Linked DNA regions of Homo sapiens: regions 1, 2, 3, 4 and 6 are each linked to region 5. The links are contacts of gene promoters, found by promoter capture Hi-C in blood cells and fetal thymus (Javierre and others, 2016). All regions are on one chromosome and are shown on one strand. Each heading gives the region's core, a stretch centred on a gene start or on the middle of the fragment in contact. The rest is flanking DNA. Distances are from core to core; before and after follow the strand shown. Region 1 has its middle 16 kb from the start of TPRKB. Region 2 overlaps STAMBP (STAM binding protein). Region 3 overlaps TPRKB (TP53RK binding protein). Region 4 overlaps STAMBP (STAM binding protein). Region 5 holds the start of C2orf81 (chromosome 2 open reading frame 81). Region 6 overlaps DUSP11 (dual specificity phosphatase 11).

Region 1 (2,700 bases), core at 169-2,668, 670 kb after region 5:
ATAGGGTGTATGTCCTAGACTGTTTCATTACTGGCCCTAAGTCTTGTACAAACTGTAGTTGTCTTTTTTTTTTTTGAGACGAATCTCGCTCTGTCACCCAGCCTGGAGTGCAGTGGCACGATTTCGGCTCACTGCAAGCTCCGCCTCCCAGGTTCAAGCCATTCTCCTGCCTCAGCCTCCTGAGTAGCTGGGACTACAGGTGCCTGCCACCACGCCTGGCTAACTTTTTTGTATTTTTAGTAGAGATGGGGTTTACCATGTTAGCCAGGATGGTCTTGATCTCCTGACCTCGTGATCCGCCCGCCTCGGCCTCCCAAAGTGCTGGGATTACAGGCGTGAGCCACCACGCCCAGCCGAAACTGTAGTTGTCTTAATGGGACTTGCATGATGGTAAGATGTAGGGACCAGCCCCACAGGGTCAGTGGGTTTTTCTCCCCATGTGTGGAGACGAGAGATTGTAGAAATAAAGACACAAGACAAAGAGATAAAAGACAGCTGGGCCTGGGGGACCACTACCACCAAGATGCAGAGACCAGTAGTAGCCCCGAATGCCTGGCTGCACTGTTATTTATTGGATACAAGGCAAAAGGGGCAGGGTAAAGAGTGTGAGTCATCTCTAGTGATTGATAAGGTCACGTGAGTCACGTGTCCACTGGACAGGGGGCCCTTCCCTGCCTGGCAGCCGAGGCAGAGAGAGGGAGAGCGAGAGAGAGACAGCTTACGCCATTATTTCTGCATATCAGAGACTTTTAGTACTTTCATTAATTTTGCTACTGTTATCTAAAAGGCAGAGCCAGGTGTACAGGATGGAACTTGAAAGCAGACTAGGAGCGTGACCACTGAAGCACAGCATCACAGGGAGACAGGGTCAGGCCTCCGGATAACTGCGGGCGGGCCTGACTGATGTCAGGCCCTCCATAAGAGGTGGAGGAGTAGAATCTCCTCTAAACTCCCCCAGGGAAAGGGAGACTCCCTTTCCCGGTCTGCTAAGTAGCGGGTGTTTTTCCTTGACACTGATGCTACTGCTAGACCACGGTCTGCTTGGCAATGGGCGTCTTCCCAGACGCTGGCATTACCACTAGACCAAGGAGCCCTCTGGTGGCCCTGTCCGGGCATAACAGAAGGCTTGCACTCTTGTCTTCTGATCACTTCTCACTCACTATGTCCCTTCGGTTCCTATCTCTGTATGGCCTGGTTTTTCCTAGGTTATGATTATAGAGCGAGGATTATTACAGTATTGGAATAAAGAGTAATTGCTACAAACTAATGATTAATGATATTCATATATAATCATGTCTATGATTTAGATCTAGTATAACTCTTGTTGTTTTATATATTTTATTATACTGGAACAACTTGTGCCCTCGGTCTCTTGCCTCAGCACCTGGGTGGCTTGCTGCCCACCGTAGAACAGGAATGTTAAAGGGAGAATTACAGGACCAAATCAGTCCTTGTGCCAAAAAAGCCTTCCAAGAGTGGTTGAATACCCTTTCATGCCACTTCCTTTAATGGGTATTCTGTGTCTCTCTTTTAATTTTTATGGGTTTGGCTGTGACCACTCTCCCTGGCTTCCCTTGGGCCCAAACATCTCTCCTTACCTGTGTGAGAATTTCTTCTGGAATGTCCTGAACCTCTTCGTTTTCTGGTTGCAGCAGGAGTATTTGAAACCTGCAAACTTGTTCAGAAGGAATCATTATATCTAGGCATCTGGGGGGAAAGACAAGTTGAGCATACAATTTGGCAAGCAAATCCCAGCCCAGGAGGGGCACTGGGCATTAAGCATGTACAAGAAACTATGCCCTAGGCCGGTCTCTCGTAAATGGTAACCTGAAGATTGTAGAAAGGGATAATGGTGTCTCCCAATATCCGTGTAACAGTAATGGTTTTTCCCAAAGCTGGAGAGAGACAATTGTTAATTAATTAATATGTGGCACTGTGTCAAGTAAAAAGTCAATCATTCTGTTCCCCACTGTCAGTTGTATCTAGGAATCCTGTGGGGATATAGCCACTGGTTGCTCCAAGTCTAAGGGAGTCCCTGGGACACATCAGTCTTCATCTAAATATTATTCTCTCTCCTCATCTGATTTTGAGGGACACTGCACTTGCTAGCTGCTTTGGTCAATTTGGGACAGCCCTTTTTCCAGTGTCCCTCCTTCTTACAATAGGCATATTGGTTTTTTTTCTGAAGGGGGCGTGAGCCGCTCTTTGATTTCTTCCTTTTCCCCTAGGTTGGTAGTCAAGCACAGCTGCCAGTGAGTTACTTGTTGCTTCAATTTGCACTTTCCTGAGCCTCATCCTGAGCATAGTACACTTTAAAAGCTAAGTCCACTAAATGTGAGATTGGCAACCCAAGGATCCCATTTACCTTTTGCAGTTTTCTTTGAATATCAGGGCACTGTGGCTGATAAAGGTCACATTGACCATTCTCTGATTGTCCGGTGCCTCAGGGTTAGTTAGCGTCAACCTACTTTCCACATGTCTGATGGAGTCTTTCTGGGAATTACAAAGGGTCCTCATATGCTTGCCGCTGTACTTCCTGTACCTTATTGAGGCTCTTAACCTGAGTAACCCCTTTCCTCAAACCTTCAAGGATGTGGTTCTCATAGTGTCCTAAGTGGGAAAGGCCCCACCATTTACATCGCACCTGGTCTCTGTGTTAGGGACTGAGTCTATTGGCCAGGGGTGATTGTTTCCTGCCTC
Region 2 (2,700 bases), core at 16-2,515, 560 kb after region 5:
GAAACAGACTATAGTTGCCACTGGAGTTCAAGGAAGGAAGCCCTCAGAGTGAACCTACCAGTGAGGGAAGGCACTAAAGGAACTGGAAGGACAGAGCCCATGGTTATGTAGCGTCACAGTGCTGGATTCTGGATCTAACAGGCTGATTGAATGATGCCGGACACACCTGTAAGTTAAGGCCCAGCTTCTAATCTCAAACAGGCTAAGGTGAACTAAAAATTGAACCCTGGATTAAGGGGTGAAGACTTCAGTGAAGAGGGCCAATGTTCTGCCCTTCCTTCATCTCAAGAAGTAGTTGGAACAACAAAAGTGGGAGGTTCAAACAAGAGTGGGCTGGAGCCAAGGGAAAATAGAGATGATGTAATTTCTTTAGGTCCTGGGTCTGCTCTGGGTCTTAGGGAGAATGAGTAGAAATTTGGAATGGTTCTTGAGGTCCTCAGTTTTCCTGCTCAGAACATCAAGGTAGACCAGATAGCTTTGGAGTCAAAGCCTAGCTAGTGCTAAAGAATGTGGATCTGCCCAAAGATTCCTCTAGCTGTATGCTGAATGGGCAGAGGTCCAGAAGATAGAAGCAACCGCACCCCAACTGTAACATTTCAAGAAAGACAAGTAACAAATCCCTTATATCTTTATAGCATCTTTCAACTAACGTAGGCCTCATATGCATATAGATGTCATTCTGTCATCATTTGAGGTAGGCATATTAGACTGATCCCATTTTACAGATTTTAAAGAAATTTAGGAAGTTAAGTGATTTGCTGGTGAATGTATAGCTGGGCCTAGAAGCAAAGCCTTAAATGTTCAACCTGGCACTTCCCCTGGAGAGGATAATATTCCAATAGTCCTGATCTAAACAGGATTTCCAGTGCCCCAAGCAAAGCTCCTCAGAAAAAGACATGATCCTTGACTCAGAAGTTCTACTCTGGGCTCACATGTTTGAAAGATCCTTGGACAAACTGGTCTCCAAACTCAGGTGGGGTTAAAACACTGAGATATGAGGGATGGGAGGCACAATATCAATAGCTGACTCTATTTTCTAGGGAACAACATCTACTCTGGTCCTAAAACTGTGTTCTCAAAATCCACTGGAAACATATCAAAATTGCAGGATTCACCAGACTTTCACTCATTAAAGCTTTGCTCCTAATAGCCTCCATTCTTCTCAACCCCAATATGAAAAATTTCTCTTTCAACTGGGGTAACTAAAACCCCAAAGAAGCCATCAACAGTCAAAAGGGATAGGCACTTACAATTTTAAATTCTGTGGTACCAAATGAAAGCTGAAATCCTTGCCTCTCAAGCAAGAAAATCCACCATGACACTGGCCCAAGGGAATGTTTCTCTCATGCTGCCTTTTATGGTATCTGGTACCCAAGACAATATTACAAAAGCTTAAGGGTTTCTTCTTCTTCCCCTTTGGTCCCATTTAACAAGGAGTATGTGAAAGTGATCATCTGAAAAAACCCAGCTCTGCTCTGACCCCAAGCAAATCAGCTCCTCTGATTCTCTCTGCACCTGGCCTATGGCACTTTGGTAGGTTTGTGCCTCCCAGGGCAACTGGGACATTGTTTGGCAACCTGACGATGCTTTTGTCTCCCCTCTCAGCCCAGAACACTAAGTATGGTACTTGTGCAGCTTGCAAGAGTGGAAAAGTCTCCTGGTCTTTGAGCCTCGGGAACCCAGGAGTCAGTCCCTTTAGCCAAATAGTCATTACCCTTTCAATACAATGTCTTTCCTCAGGTTGCGTGGTCTTTGTCCCTTTTACCCACAGTATTCCTTTCCTCTTTTCCCGACCGCTCTGGCTACTCCTCTTTCTCTCCGGCCTATCCAGTCTCAGGGCTTGTGGGCTGGCTTGATTCCACGTCTCCTCCACAGAGGTAAGATGAAGACAGAGACACTTAGACCATCCTATGCAGAGTGCCTCTGCAGTGGCTAGGCTGCAGCAGATATGAAGAGGGATCTACAGACTGATTTCCTGCACCCATCTAGCCACTAAGATATCTTGTGCCTAGAGGAAGAGAAAAGAAAATATAGCAGTTTGGTGATCAGTCTGTGATCAATGTGGTTGCAACGTATGATATGTTGTTGACCTGGCTGAATGTCTTTGGTGGGCAGAGACGGATAAGAGAGCTCACAATTCTTAGGTATCAAAGACCAATGCAGTGGTTGTCAACCCTGGTTGTACTTGAGAATTCTAGCAGCTTGAAAGACAAATGCAGAAACAACATCTGAGGCTCCACCCTAGAGATTCAGCTTTAATTGGTGGGGGGTAGAACACAGGCATCAGTATTTTTTAAATTGCTCCCTAGATATTTGAATATATAGCCAGGGGTAAGAACTTTAAGTGGAAAGTTCTGACTAAAAGCTAAATTTAGATTTTCAGCAATGGGAAGCTATTGCAGGTTTTTGAGCAAGAGAGAAAACATGAACATGGCTGGAATGTGAGAAGCTTCTCCTGATCAAAGTGTGCAGAACAGACTGGAATGAAGAAATGCTAAAAACAAAGAGACTTGGTAAAAGCCAACGGCTACAGTCGAAATAAAAGGTAAGAAAGCCCTAAGCTAAGTGGTAGACAAAGAATGGGAAGAAGGGGATGGATTTCCCAAAAGCAGAGGACTGGGCAATTTCAGGACTGTTTAGAGCAAGGTGGAACAGCCAGGCTGCTCTGGGCTGCAGCAGGAAATGGCTTGTCCAAGCCCA
Region 3 (2,814 bases), core at 56-2,555, 690 kb after region 5:
TTAAGAAATGAGTTCTGATGTTAACTTTTAAATGAAATCTTTTGGTCTTTTCATTTTGTGTGCAGTAGAATCCTGCTTATCTGTGAAATGCAGTTAACACATCAGCTGGACCTATTTCCCGAATGCAGGGTAACCCTTCTGTTATTTAAAGATGTAAAAAATGCGGGAGACTTGAGAAGAAAGGCCATGGAAGGCACCATCGATGGATCACTGATAAATCCTACAGTGGTAAATATAAATTTTAAGAATGAATGAGCCTGCTGGGTGCGGTGGCTCACGCCTGTAATGCCAGCACTTTAGGAGGCCGAGGCGGGTGGATCATCTGAGGTCAGGAGTTGAAGACCAGCCTGGCCAACATGGTGAAACCCTGTCTCAACTAAAAATACAAAAATTAGCTGGGCGTGGTGGCGGGCGCCTATAATCCCAGCTACTCGGGAGGCTGAGGCAGGAAAATCATTTGAACCCTGGAGGCAGAGGTTGCAGTGAGCCAAGATTGCGCCATTGCACTCCAGCCTGGGCGACGAGCAAAACTCTGTCTGGAAAAAAAAAATGGCCAGGCATGGTAGCTCACGCCTGTAATCCCAGCCCTTTGGGAGGCCGAGGCAGGCAGATCATGAGGTCAGGAGTTTGAGACCAGCCTGGCCAATATGGTGAAACCCTGTCTCTACTAAAAATACAAAAATTAGCTGAGCATGGTGGTGGGCACCTGTACTCAGGAGACTGAGGCAGGAGAATCGCTTGAGCCTGGGAGGCAGAGGTTGCAGTGAGCCGAGATTGTGCCACTGCACTCCAGCCTGGGCAACAGACCAAGAATCCGCCTCAAAAAAAAAAAAAAAAAAAAAGAATGAATGAGCCATACAGGGCATTTAAGTATACATTAATATTTGTGATGTTATAGGGTAGCCTAAAAATCTGTCACGGTTAGGGAAAAAATTCTTGTCCAAGTCAGATGCAGCCAACTTTGACTATAACAGTGAATAGAGGCAGAAGTGCCAGGTCCTGCCCTAGGAAATAGGAAAGGTTGTGGTCTGGGTCTAATATGGGAAATGCCTGGATCTCCAGCTTCTCATCTTTAAAATGGGGGTTCCTAACAAGACAGTCTGTAGAGGAGGAATAGTGTAGTGGTTAAGAGTACACACAGAGGCCAAGGTGGGTGGATTGCTTGAGGCCCGGAGTTTGAGACCAGCCTGGCCTACATAGTGAAACCGTGTCTCTACTAAAAATACAAAAAGTAGCTGGGTGTGGTGGTGTGTGCTGGTAGTCCCAGCTACTCGGGAGGCTGAGGCACAAGAATCATTTGAACCTGGGAGGCGGAGGTTACAGTGAATTGAGATTGAGCCACTGCATTCCAGCCTGGGCAATGGAGCGAGAGACTCTGTCTGTCTCCAAAAAAAAAAAAAAACAAAAAAACAGGGCACACGCAGTGCGATCATGTTACCGGGAATTAATCCCAGACCTACTACTTAGGCCTTTGAACAAGACATAACCAACCTTTATATAGTGCTTACTGCATTCCTAGCATTGTTCCAAGTGCTTTACGTATACTAACTTGCTTAATCTTCACAACAGCCTATGGAGTGAATACTGTTTCATCGGTCTCTAACAAATAAAATGCTAATGAACTTGCATAAGTTTCCTAGGTGATAGGTGACAGAGATGGGATTCAAACCCAGACATTCTTTGCCTCAATTTCCTCATCAATTACATACTACTACTACTGCTACTACTACTAATAATAGTGTCAATTTCATAGGGTAGTTTTGAGGATTAAAGAAAATATTACAAGTAAAATGTTTGCAATATGATCATGCCCATAATATTAGCCCTCAATTAATGTTATTTAAAAAAATTTTACTATTTGCATAAGTTCCTTGCAGCTTTAAAATTCTGTGATTTCCTGACTACCCAGGCCCTTGGGATAATAGTTGTTTTTTGTTTTTTTTTTTTTTGAGACAGTTTCACTCTTGTTGCCCAGGCTGGAGTGCAATGGCGCGATCTTGGCTCACGGCAACCTCTGCCTCCCGGGTTCAAGCAATTGTCCTGCCTCAGCCTCCTGAGTTGCTGGGATTACAGGTGCGTGCCACCACGCCTGACTAATTTTTGTATTTTTAGTAGAGAGGGTTTCGCCGTGTTGGCCAGGCTGGTCTTGAACCCTGACGTCAGGTGATCTACCCACCTTGGCCTCCCAAAGTGCTAGGATTACAGGTGTGAGCCACCGTGCCCAGCCGGGATAATAGTTTTGAAAATACAGACCGTAAGAATTGTGATGAAGTAAAACAGCTTGACACTGGAGTTAACCATGAGTTACCATGTGTTTTCAGGCACTGCAGATTCTCCATGTGTAATTAATTCTTTTTCCTTGCTTTGGTAGATTGTTGATCCATTTCAGATACTTGTGGCAGCAAACAAAGCAGTTCACCTCTACAAACTGGGAAAAATGAAGACAAGAACTCTATCTACTGAAATTATTTTCAACCTTTCCCCAAATAACAATGTAATGTGCACTTTCCTATTTCTGTTGACCGTGTCATAATAACATATGTGTTCCTCAGTGTTGGGTTGGAGGCTAAATTCCTGCAAGCCAGTGGTTAGTAATAAACCCAAATAATAGTGAAGAGAGCTCTGGACAGAGAGTTGAGGTTTAACCCTGCCTCTTACTAAGACAGTTTACATATGAGTAAACAAAAATTTAGCTAAATTAAGCGAGGTTAATTTTATCTGTTCTTACCATATAGGGTCAGGAAGACCCCTCAAGTATTTTTGCTTGAGAAGCTGACAGAAATCTAAATGATAAAACATTAGGCGTGGATATTT
Region 4 (2,700 bases), core at 127-2,626, 580 kb after region 5:
AAATAGCTTGAAAAGTCAATTCTTATAAATAGCTTCAGGTATAACCAAATGTGAATCCAACCCTCAAATTCTCTGATCTAAAAACCTATGTTTTGGAGAGAATGTTCATTGTTCTTATGATTCTCACTCTAGACATAGCAGGTAGGCGACAGATTTTCTGTCCCTCAAGTCACTCTCTTCGACAAATAGGCTATATCTGTGTTACAACCCTGAGCCTAACCACTGGTGTTCTACTTTTTTGAGTTTCTGGTCTTTGCCCAAAAAAGGTGAAACAGCACATTAAAAGCACAGGATATATTGAAATGTCATATTACAATCCCAGGGCACAGCCTAAAAAAGCAAAATAATTTTCTTCTTAGCTGTTATATACTGACCTTTTCTTCATTATATTCTGTATATTCTTTGGTATATCGTTTTAACAGCTCTGCCTTCAGCTCTTCTGCTTTGGGAAATGCAATCTCCTTTAATTTCTGAGACACAAAACAGAAAATAGAATTAGAACAATGCCAGAAAATTACAGAATCCAAAAGAAGACTTAAGTCAAGTTGGTGACTGCAACATTTCCCAAAATGATTTAAAATACCCCCTACTGTACCATACCTGCTACTTCAGAACTGTTGTGGTGAAATGGCCTTATCTCCTATTGCAGGATCTGGTACTCAGATGCAGAGACTACTACTTTTATCTTGAAGTCAGTCTGTGCTGCTCTGAAGCTTTTAGATGGGCAACAATGAAAGTGAAGACCCACCTTTACTGTGTCTTTCTTTTCAGGAATGACAGCAGATTTGTAATCTCGATGTTTTGGTAGTTTCTCAATAAAGAGCCTAAGGAAACAGTTCAAAATGATTATGAAGCAAATGGTCCAAATGTCCATAAGACCCTAAAGCTATGCAACCCCCTTATCCTGAAGCCCTTATATGAAAGGTTCCAGAAGTGCAGCGGAGGGAGAGCTAATACACCCAGCTGGGCCATGCTCCTTTCCCATCTCTATCCCCCTAAAGAGCCAGAGTCTTTTCCTCTACTCCCAAACTAGGCAGCAAGCACCAGACTCCTACAATGAAAAAGATGGCCAAAAAAATTTTAAAAAGCCTTTCTTGTGCCCAAAAATGTACCTCCAAAGAAAGAGATCTTTTTCTTGTTGTGACGTGACAGGTTTTCAAAGGAAAGGGCTTCTGTCACATAGCAGTCTTCAGAGAACCGTTTGGCAGCCATGGGCAGGAAGCAAGAGAAAACCATGTTTCCTTACTCCTTCTAGCTCTTATGTAACCTTTAACTTTGGCTTTTTTCCTTTGGGATTCGTGTTCCTTCAAAGAAGAATACTACTTTGCATCATACAAAAATGCATGGAAATACTTAGTGCATGTGTTCTATGCATGTAGTATGTGCATATTACATGTTAGCATGCACTGTCTTTGATGAAAAGTGCTTAGGTAAATATAAGATGCTAGATTTCATCTTTTGGTTCTTGTCCATGGCTCTAAAGCTCAGTGGGGAGAATAAACTTAATTAATTCACAAATCTCTAACATTTAAGACATCTACTTAGGGGCAGTGAAAATAAATAAAAGTCCAGTAACCTGTCACAGAAAGAAAGTGGCAGATTCAGAATTTCAGTATGAGCAGGCTGGCTCCAGAGCCTATTCTTTTAACCACTACACCATACTTCTTCCATACGGATTCTGGAATGTCTAGAACTACTGGAGGGATTCTGAACAAAGATGTCTTTTAACAGAATTAAGTTGTAATACACAGAAACTGAGATAAAAAAATAAATTGAAGGTAGCTTGCTGATAGCTCTAAAATATTATATTGTAATTGGGATAAACTCTTTTCTACTTACTGCCCATGGGGCAGAAGTAATTGGAAGAAGAATCCTCAATAAAGAAAAAAGATGATCCCCACCAAAACAAACTTTCTAAAGATAAGTCCTCATCCTTCAGTTCTATATTAGGCACACAAGTTTCATTTTGATCCAACTTGATAAGGCTCCTCAAGGCAGGGATGGACTCTAAAATAAAAATGGTTCTTTAAAAAGCTTCCTTTTGGGTTCATGAAGAAGATATAAAAGAGGCTGGGTGCGGTGGCTCATGCCTGTAATCCCAGCACTTTGGGAGACCGAGGCAGGAAGACTGCTTGAGCCCAGGAGTTCAAGACCAGCCTGGGTAACAGGGTGAGACCTTGTCTCTATTTATATTTTTTAATTTATATATATATATACATATATATATATACATACACAAACATATATAACAAAACATAAAAAAACACAAAAATTAGCTGGGTGTGGTGGTATGCATCTGTAGTCCCAGCTGCTTGGGAGGCTGAGGCAGGAGGATCTCTCGATCCCAGAAGTCTGAGGTTACAGTGAGCTTTGATCACACCACTGCACTCCAGCCTGGGTGACAGAGGGAGATCCTATCTCTATTTGGAAAAAAAAAAAAAAAAAGAAAGATATAAAACAGTTTCCTTGAAGTCTATATTTAAAAGAAATACAGATTCATTTGTTCAAACCATAAAGTCCTGAAGAATCTATTAAGATAAATAAGACATATTTCTTATATTTTAGAGACTGATAGATGATTCAGTAGAACTCTCATCTTAGCCCCAAAAGCCAAGATACATATTAATATTTACTACCTTTAGCAGGCTGAATGTGCTTTGTATTGAGGCCTGAATCAGCTAAGAAAGTACTATGTCATAT
Region 5 (3,041 bases), core at 80-2,579:
GAGTCCTCTTCTTACCTGTATTCCTCGATGTGAGGTGAGTACCAGCAGCACTCGGAAGGGGAGGACACACCAGTGGACCTGGAGGGAGGTGCATCAGTGTAGGGAGAAAATCAAAGCAGGGAAGATGAGTTTGTTTGTTTTTTTTTTTTTTTTGGGGGACGGAGTCTTGCTCTGTGGCCCAGGCTGGAGTGCAGTGGCGCCATCTCGGCTCACTGCAACCTCAGCCTCCTGGGTTCAAGCGATTCTCCTGCCTCAGCCACCCAAGTAGCTGGGATTACAGGTGCACGCCACCACACCCGGTTAATTTTTTTTGTATTCTTAGTAGAGAAGAGGTTTCACCATGTTGGCCAGGCTGGTCTCGAACTCCTGGCCTCAAGTGCCCGTCTCAGCCTCCCAAAGTGTTGGGATTACAGGCGTGAGCCACCGCGCCCGGCAGGAGAGGGGAGATTCTGAGGTTAGGACATGCCTGGGGAGATTCTGAGGTTAGGACATGCCTGCTCCTGAAGGTTTGGAGAGAAAAGGCTGGGGGTAGGACTGGGTTCAGCAACATCACTCCCAGCTCCATGCCTCACCTGAGTGATAAGTGGGGGACTCACTCCAGCACCCTCCTTAGCGTGGAGCTGGCGCTGGGCCAAGGGCACACCCTCAGGAGCAGCGCTGAGAAGCTGGGCGCTTGGTCCATGAACCACGCCAAAATACGTGAGGTTGCGAGCCGGCAGCTGCAGCACACTGAGGTTGTTGCACAGGGCGGCGGCCGAGCCTCGCAGGGGAATGGAGCGCTCCCAGCGGAACATCCTGTGTGGGGGTGCAGCCGAATCACCAGGCGCGCTACAAACAGACGCAGCGGAGATGCCCGAGGGCGGCTATCATCGAGCATTTCGGAAGATGCCTGAGACTGGGTCATAGGATGGGGTGCCCAGAGGACGGTGATGGGGGAGGGTCTCGAGGAGCAAGACAGGGGAGTCCCAGGGCTGTTTTGGGGCGACGGGGGAATCGCAGAGGAGGAATGGGGATGACACAGGACCACCCGATGGCCCCAAGCCCGCGAGCCAAATAAGTGTGATGAAGCCCCCAAGGCTTTCTCCCTCGGCTCGGATCCCTGAAGCCCCCGGCCTAGATCAGAGGTAACACCTGCAGCCCCAGATCGGCTCGCCTGACTCCTGGTTCGTAGGGTCCCTCCAAATCCGCCGCCACCATAGAGACGACGCACGTACGCACGGCCCTTGGGCGGGGTGAGCGGCCGGAACGTGCCGCGGGCGGCGCGGTTGCCGGGGCAACTGTGGGCGGGGCGAGCGACCCCGAGCCCGTGGTTGCCCAGGCGACTGTTAGGTGGCTTACGCGGCCCGGATGCAGCAGAAACACCAGCGTTGCTGCGACCGCGTTGGCGATGGCGCACGAAGGCTCGGTGAGCTTCAGTTCAGCTGGGGATGCGCCAGAGCCAGGGTCGGCCGTTAAGGTCGGTGTCGGGAACAGTGGGCTGGCTCTGGGCCGCCCAGTGCCCCTACTTGCTCCCGCCCACCGCGCGGGAGTTTAGATGACCAAGGAAGCCACGTCGGTACTCGGGCAGAAAACCTACACCTGCACGGTGCCCACTCAAACGCTTTGTTACACTCAAGCCATGAGGGAAAGGGTCAGTGGGTGGTGTAGAGCCCGAGAACAGGAAGTGGATTTTGAAACAGCTAATGAATGTAGTAAGTCTCTTACATGGTGGTGCGTATTTAAATGGATGAGCATTTAGAGAGGGAAGATAACAGAAAAAATCTATTTCGAGAATTTCAAGAGGAAGAAATATATTAAATAATTCAGAGACTGCACTTGAAAGTCAAATTGTTTAAGAGCCAATCAATTTTAAAATAAAGAAAACGGGGCCGGTCTCAATGGCTCATGCCTGTAATCCCAGCACTTTGAGAGGCTGAGGCGGGAGGATTGCCTGAGCTCAGGAGTTCAAGACCAGCCAGGCCAACATGGCGAGACCCCGTCTCGACTAAAATACAAAAAATTAGCTGGATGTGGTGGCGCGGTGCCTGTAATCCCAGCTACTCGGGAGGCAGAGGCAGGAGAATTGCTTGAACTCGGGAGGCGGAGGTTGCAGTGAGCCGAGATCGCGCCACTGCGCTCTAGCCTGGGTGACAGAGAGAGACTGTCTCAAAAAAAAAAAAAAAAAAAAAAAAAAAAGAAGAAGAAGAAAGAAAACGGATTTGAAGAGCCTTTGTGCAAAAATATCTCTGTCCCTTCTGGTCACCATCACGGGTGTCAGATGCGAGGCTGGGAGGGGAGGTCTAAGGAAACAACTCTCTTTACTCAGTCCAGTCAGCCCTGCTCTAGTCAAGCTTGGCCTGGGCTATGGGCCACTCCTGGTGCTTGCTACAGGGCTGTTCTCACTGGTGGATAGGGTTAATGAGACTTCAGGGATTTTGAGTTCTGCAAGACTTAGGAAACAGCAGATTTGGGGGGATAATGAATTTTAGGAAACAGATATGAGACAAGGTTTTAGCGGGGCAATAGGCAAAGGTTTGGGAAGATCACATTTGGAAGTACATTTTGGAAGGAACCAGGTTCAGGGAGACTGTTGTGGGGAATTGAGGGAGCTCCCAAGAGATTGTTTGTAAACTTTTTATGTCTCTAAAGTGAGTTTTGGGGACTAGTCTTTTTTTTTTTTTAAGTGATTACAAAAGGAAACAAACTCATTGTAGAGAACTTACAAAATAGAAAAGAGCATAGGAAGGAAACGTATCCTCTGTTATCATTTTGAAGTTTTCCTTTTGTTGAACACATAGTGGTTTACATATATGAGATCATAATTGATGTGTAAGTTTGTATCCTGCTTCTTTCAATTAACGTTACATCATAAACATTTGCTTTATGCCATTGCAAATTCTTTCTAAAGATTACCTTTAATGGCTGGGTTGGTGGCTCATGCCTGCAAGGTGGGCAGATCACTTGAGGCCAGTTCAAGACCAGTCTGGCCAACATGGCGAAACCCCATCTCTACTAAAAATAGAAAAAAAATTAGCCAGGCCTGGTGGCAGGCGCCTGTAATC
Region 6 (3,060 bases), core at 27-2,526, 650 kb after region 5:
AAAGGATTGTTGTAATATACCTTCTATGTTCCAGGAGAATGGAAACTTTCCTTTGAATCTCGTTGTATGTTAGCATCACAGGACTTGAATAAATGCCTAATGTAGTACAGGATTTTAAGCACATATTTGCTCTTATTTCATTCTCTGTGACAGAGTTTTGAAAAGAAACTTGCTCCAGAAGAATGCTTTTCCCCTTTGGATCTTTTTAACAAAATCCGAGAACAAAATGAAGAACTTGGACTGATTATTGATTTAACATATACTCAACGCTATTATAAACCAGAGGTAAGTGGAACCCTTCAATGAAAAGAACTTTCTTCCTTCTGATCCTAAAATAATTTATAGTAATTCAGTAATCATCTTGTGCTAATGTGAAGCTTGGCCTTCTTTGATGGGTAGTAAGTTTAAAAGAGAACCAAGTGATTTCTCTAATTACATGTTTTTAATTGCTGTCTTAAATGGAATATTATTCAGCCATAAAAAAGAATAGATTTAATACGTGCTACAATATGGATGAACCTTAAAAACATGCTTAGTGAAATAAACCAGACACAGAAGGACAAATATATGATTCCACTTGTATGAAGTACCTAGAATAGACAAATTCACAGAGACAGAAAGCAGACTAAAGGATCTATGAGGTGGGGAGAAAAGGGAATTATGGTTTAGTGGTCAGAGTCTTTTTGTCGGGGATGATGAAAAAGTTTTGGGTATAGACAGTGGTGATGGTTACACAATACTGTGAATGTAATGCCACTGAACTATACACTTGTGGATGGTTAAAATGATTTTGACTTAGCCTCTTCTGTCTTTTATCTGTATCTACTTTTCTCCCACCCCAAGAATATCGGTTCTCAATAGTGCCTGGAATTCCCTCTATCTCACAATTCAAATCCAAGTTCTTCTGACTCTATTCTCTACTCTTCTACTTAAATCATAGCTGCTTTATGAAGGCACTGGCCCTTGAATTATAAAATATTAAATGGAACTGTTTATATAATTTATAGTTAAATATGCATTCATTCACATGGAATTTGCTTTCAGTTTTGTATACCTAGTGACTATCTATTATGTAGTTTTATTGAAAATCAAGTGATACTTCCTGGTTGAAGCAGTGTTGGAAAAAATGGCTCTTTTATCAGAATTGTGTATACTGATATTGGCATATTAAGTTTGTTATAATCTCTTGGCTTATATTCTGGGTCCCCTAATTACTCTTTAATTATTTCTCTACAAGTGAAATAATACACATCTTTTATGGTTTTGCTTTATAGGATTTGCCAGAAACTGTTCCTTACTTAAAAATTTTTACAGTTGGACATCAAGTGCCTGATGATGAGACTATTTTTAAATTCAAACACGCTGTTAATGGGTTTTTGAAAGAAAATAAAGATAATGGTGAGTTTTTGTTCTTACCTGAACTGTGGTGTGCATTATGAATGGGGTTGGGGATTTTTGGTATTTTTTTATAGTTCCAACCTCAGACCTGTTGTATTTAATGATGCTAAGGTGATGAAAATGTCAGATGGTGCTAATAGGGTAAGATGTTTTTCCTTTTGTTGATCACAAATAATTTAACTTTGGAATGTTAAATTAGTTTTAGTGCAAAATATGAACTGAACTGGCTCATCTTTCTTTTTTAATTTGAATGAGAAATATATAAAATTAAAATGTTATTTTTGTCTTCTATATTGGTTAAGAAGTGAGAAGTAGAAGAAAAGATTAAAAAACTCTGAGTCTTAGAGTTATGTGAAAGAGACAAGAAAGGGCAAAGATTAAGAATGGGACGGACCCCTAGAAGCAAAACAAGAAAGAGTGCACCAGTGGAATTGCCCCTTTGTCATATGTATTTAAGACACATGTATACATATGTAACAAACCTGCACGTTGTGCACATGTACCCTAAAACTTAAAGTATAATTAAAAAAAAGATATTTCTGCTGTTTTTCCGCTTTGAGTACAGATGGGGAAGGATACCACCACCTCTTATTCTTCACATGGGAGAACTTAAGCCAAAGGCTGGTGCTTTCTTGTTCCTGCTTTAAGATTTACCTTACTCTTTTGAAAATAGAACTTAACAGCTTCTTTATCTTAAGGATCCAGTTGCCTTTTTCTGGCATCTCTCTGCCAGAAAGAACATGATATTTGTCATATTTTAAGACTGAAGAAGCTTTTATCTTTGGAAAGCCACTGACACCCACAGGACAGAGGCTTCATTTGCCTTCTTTCCAAATTTAGCTTGAGGAGTGTACACTTTGTTACATAAATCTGACAGTAAATACTCCTTTTTAAAAAATGTGATGGAGTAGTGGAGAAAGAATAGAGACAGAGGTGGGAAGATAGGGAATGGAAGGTGAGAGATAGAGACTGGATCAGTGGGTTTGAAGATAAAATTTCAAATTGTAACCTAGTCGCTCACTTAATGTGGACACTAGCTTTTAATTATGTTAAACCTTGTTCACAGATCTTCCCCTGTACTTTAACTTTAAAACTTGAGAGGTTTGGCTTTCCCATTTGTATAAGCTGTTGTCACAGAAATACTACCTTTTAAGATATGAGGGTACAGCTGATGGCCTATTCACTGCTTCCAGGCTCTTTTCTGTGAAATTTTTATATAGCACTTCATCTGTTCTGTGAGGGCTAGGAGGTCCTTATGAATACATGAGAACACATTTTTAAATCTTAGTTGTTCACGTTATACTGATTGTAGTCAGTTGGATAGACTGAACTCCATGTTGGTCTTCTGCCTGAGTGGTGCTGACTGTCTAAGTCTTGCAGTACTCACTGCCATAGCAGGCTTGGGACCTTGTTTATAATCAGTTTTGGCTACCTCTGCTATAATCCCTTCCCACAGATAACAGGCTCACTGATAAAAAGAGGACACTACACTCTCCACTCGCTTCTAGAACTAGTAGGGACTGAGAAAATAAATTGATTCAGTAAACACTGAGATCCTTTTAGATTTGTTGTTAGAGCATGAAGACACAGAGATGATAGCAGTCTTTGTTTTTTGTTATAGCAGTTCACAGTTATCTAGGAAAATAAATATGTAGTGCATGT

What was found. Contacts are between HindIII fragments. The CHiCAGO score rates a contact against its expected background, and 5 or more counts as called.
Region 1: a contact is called between a fragment that was not itself captured here and the fragment with the promoter of C2orf81 in region 5, in 1 of 17 cell types (neutrophils). The highest score is 5.9, in neutrophils.
Region 2: a fragment that was not itself captured here is called in contact with the fragment with the promoter of C2orf81 in region 5 in 4 of 17 cell types (naive CD8 T cells, activated CD4 T cells, M2 macrophages and 1 more); the score reaches 6.6 in naive CD8 T cells.
Region 3: a contact is called between a fragment that was not itself captured here and the fragment with the promoter of C2orf81 in region 5, in 1 of 17 cell types (naive CD4 T cells). The highest score is 5.3, in naive CD4 T cells.
Region 4: a fragment that was not itself captured here is called in contact with the fragment with the promoter of C2orf81 in region 5 in 1 of 17 cell types (total CD4 T cells); the score reaches 6.2 in total CD4 T cells.
Region 6: a fragment that was not itself captured here is called in contact with the fragment with the promoter of C2orf81 in region 5 in 11 of 17 cell types (activated CD4 T cells, total CD8 T cells, naive CD4 T cells and 8 more); the score reaches 11.8 in activated CD4 T cells.

What each region holds. Positions count from the first base shown.
Region 1 is chr2:73,752,455-73,755,154 of GRCh38, reverse strand. No RefSeq gene overlaps it. Among named protein-coding and RNA genes, the nearest start is that of TPRKB, 16 kb to the right of the region's middle. RefSeq lists a silencer at 974-1,157. The HindIII fragment of the contact is 4,937 bases long and covers 1-2,700 here.
Region 2 is chr2:73,863,652-73,866,351 of GRCh38, reverse strand. STAMBP (STAM binding protein) reads right to left here. Exons shown (of 10, transcript NM_213622.4): 10 at 1-2,700. Among named protein-coding and RNA genes, the nearest start is that of ACTG2, 28 kb to the left of the region's middle. The HindIII fragment of the contact is 256 bases long and covers 1,138-1,393 here.
Region 3 is chr2:73,731,843-73,734,656 of GRCh38, reverse strand. TPRKB (TP53RK binding protein) reads left to right here. Exons shown (of 5, transcript NM_016058.5): 2 at 66-228; 3 at 2,372-2,494. The coding sequence starts at 88. Among named protein-coding and RNA genes, the nearest start is that of TPRKB, 4.1 kb to the left of the region's middle. The HindIII fragment of the contact is 4,504 bases long and covers 1-2,814 here.
Region 4 is chr2:73,842,937-73,845,636 of GRCh38, reverse strand. It overlaps STAMBP (STAM binding protein), which reads right to left. Exons shown (of 10, transcript NM_213622.4): 3 at 749-824; 4 at 375-470. The region is part of intron 1 of LOC112268419 (a long non-coding RNA gene); the gene reads left to right. Among named protein-coding and RNA genes, the nearest start is that of STAMBP, 15 kb to the right of the region's middle. The HindIII fragment of the contact is 1,321 bases long and covers 716-2,036 here.
Region 5 is chr2:74,419,907-74,422,947 of GRCh38, reverse strand. It overlaps C2orf81 (chromosome 2 open reading frame 81), which reads left to right and starts at 1,329. Exons shown (of 3, transcript NM_001316764.3): 1 at 1,329-1,405. The coding sequence starts at 1,388. WDR54 (WD repeat domain 54) reads right to left here and starts at 1,218. Exons shown (of 10, transcript NM_032118.4): 1 at 1,132-1,218; 2 at 573-795; 3 at 16-78. The coding sequence starts at 794. RefSeq lists an enhancer at 539-718 and a silencer at 1,119-1,398. The HindIII fragment of the contact is 12,224 bases long and covers 1-2,332 here.
Region 6 is chr2:73,772,138-73,775,197 of GRCh38, reverse strand. DUSP11 (dual specificity phosphatase 11) reads left to right here. Exons shown (of 9, transcript NM_003584.3): 3 at 154-285; 4 at 1,275-1,398. Among named protein-coding and RNA genes, the nearest start is that of DUSP11, 6.4 kb to the left of the region's middle. The HindIII fragment of the contact is 1,793 bases long and covers 380-2,172 here.